Regions from separate parts of the Homo sapiens genome. Here region 1 is linked to region 2. Evidence: promoter capture Hi-C in human tissues and cell types (Jung and others, 2019). All regions are on one chromosome and are shown on one strand. The core of a region is centred on a gene start or on the middle of the fragment in contact, and the rest is flanking DNA. Distances in the headings are between cores, read along the strand shown.

What was found. Contacts are between HindIII fragments. The study calls those that stand out against the background at their distance.
Region 1: a contact is called between a fragment that was not itself captured here and the fragment with the promoter of BMP7 in region 2, in 1 of the 25 tissues and cell types used here (mesendoderm cells).

Annotation. Positions count from the first base shown.
Region 1 is chr20:56,997,147-57,001,156 of GRCh38, reverse strand. No RefSeq gene overlaps it. Among named protein-coding and RNA genes, the nearest start is that of BMP7-AS1, 210 kb to the left of the region's middle. The HindIII fragment of the contact is 6,874 bases long and covers 1-4,010 here.
Region 2 is chr20:57,264,841-57,268,669 of GRCh38, reverse strand. It overlaps BMP7 (bone morphogenetic protein 7), which reads left to right and starts at 2,029. Exons shown (of 7, transcript NM_001719.3): 1 at 2,029-2,965. The coding sequence starts at 2,548. It overlaps LOC112268270 (translation initiation factor IF-2-like), which reads right to left and starts at 2,230. Exons shown (of 2, transcript NR_171651.1): 1 at 2,028-2,230; 2 at 1,383-1,887. RefSeq lists a cis regulatory region at 1,830-1,922, a promoter at 1-2,541 and an enhancer at 3,650-3,829. The HindIII fragment of the contact is 13,311 bases long and covers 1-3,829 here.

The DNA.
Region 1 (4,010 bases), core at 1,430-3,929, 270 kb after region 2:
GTTTGTGGACAGTGTTTGTGCTCTGGAGTTGGGTGGTCATGGATTTGAATCCCAGATAAAACAAAATGCTTTGGAGCATCAGTTAGAGATGCCGACTGCATGATGTACAGTCATGCAGGGAATCGCATGAATGGGAGCCCGTGTTTTCCAGCGACCTGCTCAGACCTGCTATCTTTTTGCCACCCATGCGCATAGGAGTGTGCGTTCGTGTGTGTGCACATATGCATGTGTGTGGAGGTTCCCTCTGAGGTTTAGATTGGCAGTTCCGGGGCCTTGGTTCAGAGGCGTGTTTGTTTGGTGTTACCGTCTTGGGTTGCTTCCCTTCAAAGGCAACCTCAACGTACACAACGGTAAACTTACCCACATCGTGTCTGTACATGAATTGGGACACTGCCTCCCTTCTCTCCTGGGTATACCAAACATAACTGAACCTGCGCTGGTTTCTGCTTGTGAATGGTCTGGTTTGTTCTCCAGAGTGAGTCACTTTGGTTGTGTTTCGTCTACACTCTTCTCTTGCAGCCAGGGGAGACCAAACTCCAAGATCTGCAGCAATCAGGTTCCACATGAGGGGCTCCTCTGTCTCCCAGGCGTTCTACATCGGCTCATTCATTCCGTTCATGTCGTCATCCAGCAACACACACGTCCCAACCCTCTGGGCTTCAGGTCGCACAGAGGCAGCTGACTTGGGTCACTAGTTATTTCTTCCTCTTTTCACTATCATCTCACTGTCCTGGGCTGGTGTTTCTCAACTGCGGGCAATTTGGTCCCTTCAGGGGACATTTTGCGATGGCTGCAGACATCTTTGGTTGTTAGGACTGGGGATGGGAGTGTTCCTGGCCTCCAGTGAGTAGAGGCCAGGGATGCTGCTCGACACCCTACACTGTGCAGGACAGCCCCACAAAAGAAGTATCCAGGCCACAATGCCACAAATGCCAAGGTGAAGAAACCCTGGTCTAGGTAGCATCTTGCTCTTCAGACTGGCAACATTGATGTTTCCTGGAACTTGTTAGAAATGCAGAATCTTGGGTCTCACCCAGATCTGCTGAATCAGAATCCACATTTTAACAAGACCAACAGGCGACAGATCAAGACAGGTGCAAACACAGATCTGGAATGTTCAGCCTCTGAATTGTAATAGCCAAGGAGCTCCCATTTATTTCGAACCTACTATGTGTGGACCACGAAATGTCCACCCCCTCACTGATGCTCACCAGACCTCATCTTCCAGGCCCAAGGAGTTGAAGCTCAGAGACTGCAAGCTACCTCCCCAAGGACACCCAGCTGGTGAGCTGCAACGCCAGTATCCCGACCCACTCAGCCTATCCGAGCCTTAACCACCTGACCGCCTATTAGGGTCATCATGCCCTCGCTGATTCATTGAGGATCTCTGTGGGAGGGGACAGAACATGGATCGAATTTTAAATTTCCTGGGTGATTCCAGTCCGCAGCCACGGTTTTGAGCCACCACTGAAGCAGGGTCTCGCTCTGTCACCACGATGGAGTGCAGTGGTGCAATCACAGGTCACTGAAGCCTCCAACTCCTTCGCTCAAGCGATCCTCCTGACTCAGTCTTTTGAGTTGCTGGGACTATAGGTGCACACCACCACTCCCCACTAATTTATTTTCGTTGTTTTAGAGATGAGGTATTACTATGTTGTCCAGTCTGATCTTGAACTTCTGGCCTCAAGGGATCCTTCCACCTCAGCCTCTCAAATTGCGGGGATTACAGGCATGAGCCACCTCTCCTGGCCCACATGATCATTTCTAAAACTTATCTGATCATAAGAATCCCCTGAGGCCCTTGTTAAAAATGCAGATTCCCAAGTTGTTCTCTTGATATTTCTGAATCAATAGGTCTGGATCAAGGCCAGGGATTTGTATTTTTAGGAGGGTTCCTCTGTTAAGTCTGATGTTAGGCTAGTTGGAGACACTCTAAACATAAGGTCTGTCTCTCCATGCAGTCTCAGCAGGGCAAAATTGCCCCAAGGAGGGCAAATATTGTTTGGGGAGGATGAGGGAGAGTGGATAAGAAAGTCTTACACTTTTTATTGATAAAACACAGATAAACAGACAACCTAAAGAGATATGCAATATATCCATGGCATTAAGATCTCATAAGAAAGAACAGTTCAGGAGAAAACAAAGCCTAAAAATGATTATTAGAGGAAAAATCATGAAAACAAGTTATTATGTATTTAACTAGATATGTGGCTGACCCTAGACCCAAGCCTGACACCTGCCTGTCTCTGCTACCAGGAGAGATGAGCAAGAGTCAGAGACAGATTACCTAGGAGGTAGAAAGTGACCTGAACAGGAGAGAAACAATACATGGTTCACAGTAAAATTCAGTGTGGCTTGAGGTACTGTTACTGAACATCCTGTCTCTGGATAGACTGGCCCTTTGTCAGGTTCCTCCAAACCTCCATCCCATGTCTGAGGAGTTCTCTGCGTTATAAGGCAAAGAGCCATTCCCTATAGGAGCTCAACATGAGGCAAACTTATTTTACTAGACTCCCTTGCAGCTAGGACATGAACACATGACCTAGACTCAGCCAATCAGAAGCACCCATCCCAAACACATAGTGAAAGCTGCCAGTGCAAAGCTGCAGCTCCGGGCAGCACCGATGAAGCTGTGGGGAGGTGGCAGCTGCAATGGCTACAATGGGTTCCAGAAGCAGAGTCCAGAGAACAGTCTGGGGCAAAGTGCAGCATCTGTGCTCAGCAGGTGCAGCGGTGCACCATGCCATCACCTGACCAGTTCCACATCAGGATGAAGGGCATTGTCCCTGGCTGCATGAACCTGGCTCTGCAGCCTCTAGATAATTTCAGGAGCTGCCTGATACCATAAAAATAAATTGCATTTCTGTTCCTTGCAACTAGCAAATCTCACCAGTATGGAATTCCCTCAAAGATCCCAAGGGTTTATCAGCCTTGGCACTATTGCCATCTGGGCCAGAAGACACTTGGTTGTGGGGATCCTATAATACATAAGATGTTCACAGAGCACCCTTGATCCACTAGATGCCAGTAGCTCCTGCCAAGCACCTGCATTGTGACAACGAAAATGTGTCCAGGTATTGCCAAATGCCCCTGGATTGCCTGGTTAAGAACAACTGGTCTGGGCCCCGTTGTCACCAGAGTGGGTTGGTGTGCAATTTGGGAAACATCACCCTGGGTGTCACCCGAAATGATAGGCTCTCCCAACAGTTGCTAGGTGACAATTTTATATTTGTATCCATGTCGTCTATATGTGTAGCTGAAAATCTGAAACTGTGTGTGTCAAAACTGCTTTATAGTATAGTGATTACTTTTGAAGATTAGAATTGGAGGGTGAGAGTTTTTTATGTTACATATTCCTGTCCCATTTATATTTGTTACAGTGAATGTATATTAATTGTGGTGAAAAATATTTAAAAGACAGGCTGGAGAACTAGATGGAGGCAGCTGAATCCATTTTCCACGCTGCAAACAGGGTGATTTTTCTTTTTTTAAATTATTATTTTTTCAATAGTTTTTGGGGTACAGGTGGCTTTTGGTTACGTGATAGGTTCCAGAGTGATTTTTCTACTTTTTTTTTTTTTGAGACAGGGTCTTGCTCTATTGTCCAGGTTGGAGTACACTGGCACAATCTTGGCTCACTGCAATGTCCACCTCCTGGGCTCAGGTGATCCTCCCACCTCAGCCTCTCAAGTAGCTGAGACTACAGACATATGCTGCCACCCCACTTGGCTAATTTTTGTTTTTTTTTTGTGGAGAGCGGGTCTCACTATGTTACCCAGGATGGTCTCAAACTCCTGGGCTCAAGCGATCCTCCTGCCTTGGCCTCTCAAATTGCCGGGATCACAGTTGTGAGCCACTGCTCCCAGCCAGAGAGTGATTTTTCTAAATGCCAACCTGATCCTCTTGCTGCTTAATCTCCTTGCAAGACTTCCCGTGGCTTTCAGGATAAAGGCTAAACTCTGTGGCATCACTGACAAGGCCCTTTGGGACCCTCACAGAGCCTTCCTCTT
Region 2 (3,829 bases), core at 780-3,279:
TGATAGACAAGATCTGCCTCTCCTTCAGTCCCTGAATCTTATTTAAGGCTCTTGCTTTGCTTCCCTGGCCTGGAGGCCGGCTCCTTGATGGAGTCTGCCATGTGGGTTCGCTCATGGCCATGTCTTCCTGCCCAGCATGGTGCTTGGCCCTGGGACTGGCCACATAATATCTGGGCCAGGTGCAAAATTAGTACGGGGCAGGGGGTACTTTGTTCATAGGTGATTCAGAACCACATATGGTGACCTCAGAGTAGGAAACCAAGTGTGGGGCCCTTAAGAGCTGGGGGGCCCTGTACGACTGTCCAGGTTGCAGGCCCCACAGCTCGCCTCCTGATATCCTGTGCTCCATGCTTGTCTGTTGAAGGAAGGAGTGAATGGATGAAGAGCAGGTGGTGGGGGTGGTTTGAGGGCCTTGCCTGGTGGGTGGGTAGAGGCCCCTCCCTGGCATGGGGCTCAAGACCTGTTCCATCCCACAGCCTGGGGCCTGTGTGTAAATGGCCAGGACCTGCAGGCTGGCATTTTTCTGCTCCTTGCCTGGCCTCTGGCCTCCCCTTTCTCCACCCATGTGGCCCCTCAGGCTGCCATCTAGTCCAAAAGTCCCCAAGGGAGACCCAGAGGGCCACTTGGCCAAACTACTTCTGCTCCAGAAAACTGTAGAAGACCATAATTCTCTTCCCCAGCTCTCCTGCTCCAGGAAGGACAGCCCCAAAGTGAGGCTTAGCCAGAGCCCCTCCCAGACAAGCGCCCCCGCTTCCCCAACCTCAGCCCTTCCCAGTTCATCCCAAAGGCCCTCTGGGGACCCACTCTCTCACCCAGCCCCAGGAGGGGAAGGAGACAGGATGAACTTTTACCCCGCTGCCCTCACTGCCACTCTGGGTGCAGTAATTCCCTTGAGATCCCACACCGGCAGAGGGACCGGTGGGTTCTGAGTGGTCTGGGGACTCCCTGTGACAGCGTGCATGGCTCGGTATTGATTGAGGGATGAATGGATGAGGAGAGACAGGAGAGGAGGCCGATGGGGAGGTCTCAGGCACAGACCCTTGGAGGGGAAGAGGATGTGAAGACCAGCGGCTGGCTCCCCAGGCACTGCCACGAGGAGGGCTGATGGGAAGCCCTAGTGGTGGGGCTGGGGTGTCTGGTCTCAGGCTGAGGGGTGGCTGGAAAGATACAGGGCCCCGAAGAGGAGGAGGTGGGAAGAACCCCCCCAGCTCACACGCAGTTCACTTATTCACTCAACAAATCGTGACTGCGCAGCTACAGTGGCTACCAGGCGCTGGGTTCAAGGCACTGCGGGTACCAGAGGTGCGGAGAAGATCGCTGATCCGGGCCCCAGTGCTCTGGGTGTCTAGCGGGGGTAAGAAGGCAATAAAGAAGGCACGGAGTAACTCAAACAGCAATTCCAGACAGCAAGAGAAACTACAGGAAAGAAAACAAACGTGCGAGGGGCGAGGCGAGGAAACAACCTCAGCTTGGCAGGTCTTGGAGGTCTCTGGGAGGAGAAAGCAGCGTCTGATGGGGGCGGGAGGTGGTGAGTGGGGAGAGGTCCAGGCGGAGGGAATGGCGAGCGCAGAGACAGGCTGGCAACGGCTTCAGGGAGGCGCGGAGGGGTCAGCGTGGCTGGCTTAAAAGGATACAGGGACTGAGGGGCAAGACCGGCTCAAGGGTCACCGCTTCCAGGAAGCCTTCTATTTCCGCGCCACCTCCGCGCTCCCCCAACTTTTCCCACCGCGGTCCGCAGCCCACCCGTCCTGCTCGGGCCGCCTTCCTGGTCCGGACCGCGAGTGCCGAGAGGGCAGGGCCGGCTCCGATTCCTCCAGCCGCATCCCCGCGACGTCCCGCCAGGCTCTAGGCACCCCGTGGGCACTCAGTAAACATTTGTCGAGCGCTCTAGAGGGAATGAATGAACCCACTGGGCACAGCTGGGGGGAGGGCGGGGCCGAGGGCAGGTGGGAGGCCGCCGGCGCGGGAGGGGCCCCTCGAAGCCCGTCCTCCTCCTCCTCCTCCTCCGCCCAGGCCCCAGCGCGTACCACTCTGGCGCTCCCGAGGCGGCCTCTTGTGCGATCCAGGGCGCACAAGGCTGGGAGAGCGCCCCGGGGCCCCTGCTATCCGCGCCGGAGGTTGGAAGAGGGTGGGTTGCCGCCGCCCGAGGGCGAGAGCGCCAGAGGAGCGGGAAGAAGGAGCGCTCGCCCGCCCGCCTGCCTCCTCGCTGCCTCCCCGGCGTTGGCTCTCTGGACTCCTAGGCTTGCTGGCTGCTCCTCCCACCCGCGCCCGCCTCCTCACTCGCCTTTTCGTTCGCCGGGGCTGCTTTCCAAGCCCTGCGGTGCGCCCGGGCGAGTGCGGGGCGAGGGGCCCGGGGCCAGCACCGAGCAGGGGGCGGGGGTCCGGGCAGAGCGCGGCCGGCCGGGGAGGGGCCATGTCTGGCGCGGGCGCAGCGGGGCCCGTCTGCAGCAAGTGACCGAGCGGCGCGGACGGCCGCCTGCCCCCTCTGCCACCTGGGGCGGTGCGGGCCCGGAGCCCGGAGCCCGGGTAGCGCGTAGAGCCGGCGCGATGCACGTGCGCTCACTGCGAGCTGCGGCGCCGCACAGCTTCGTGGCGCTCTGGGCACCCCTGTTCCTGCTGCGCTCCGCCCTGGCCGACTTCAGCCTGGACAACGAGGTGCACTCGAGCTTCATCCACCGGCGCCTCCGCAGCCAGGAGCGGCGGGAGATGCAGCGCGAGATCCTCTCCATTTTGGGCTTGCCCCACCGCCCGCGCCCGCACCTCCAGGGCAAGCACAACTCGGCACCCATGTTCATGCTGGACCTGTACAACGCCATGGCGGTGGAGGAGGGCGGCGGGCCCGGCGGCCAGGGCTTCTCCTACCCCTACAAGGCCGTCTTCAGTACCCAGGGCCCCCCTCTGGCCAGCCTGCAAGATAGCCATTTCCTCACCGACGCCGACATGGTCATGAGCTTCGTCAACCTCGGTGAGTAAGGGCAGGCGAGGGTACGCGTCTCCTTTCGGGGGCACTTTGAGACTGGGAGGGAGGGAGCCGCTTCTTCTATGCAGCCCGCCCAGCTTTCCGCTCCTGGCTGAAATCGCAGTGCCTGCCCGAGGGTCTCCCACCCACAGCCCTATGACTCCCAAGCTGTGTGCGCCCCCAGGTCGGGCGCGCTGGGTTCGGTGAGCCTGTAGGGGTTACTGGGAAGGAGGGATCCTCCGAAGTCCCCTCCATGTTACGCCGCCGGCCGCATCTCTGGGGCTGGAGGCAAGGGCCGTTCAAAGCGCGGGGCTCGGTCATGTGAGCTGTCCCGGGCCGGCGCGGCTCGCGCTACCTGGATGTAAAGGGCCCTTCCCGGCGAGGCTGCCTTGCCGCCCTTCCTGGGCCCCTCTCAGCCCTGCCTGGCTCTGGCATCGCGGCCGTCGCACCCCCTTACCCTCCCTGTCAAGCCCTACCTGTCCCCTCGTGGTGCGCCCGCCTTAGCGTACCGCGCGCTCCGAGCGCCTTGGGGCCCCTCTCCGGGCCGCCGGATGCCCCATTCTCTCTTGGCTGGAGCTGGGGAAGAAACGGTGCCATTGCTAATTTTCTTTGTTTTCTTTCTTTGTTTATTTTTTTCTTTTTTCTTTTTTTTTCTTTTCTTTTCTTTTTTTTTTTTTTTGAGACGGAGTTTCACTCTTGTCGCCCAGTCTGGAGTGCAATGGCGCGATCTCTGCTCACCGCAACCTCTGCCTCCCGGGTTCAAGCGATTCTCGTGCCTCAGCCTCCCGAGTAGCTGGGATTACAGGCATGCGCCACCATGCCTGGCTAATTTTGTATTTTTAGTAGAGACAGGGTTTCTCCATGTTAGGC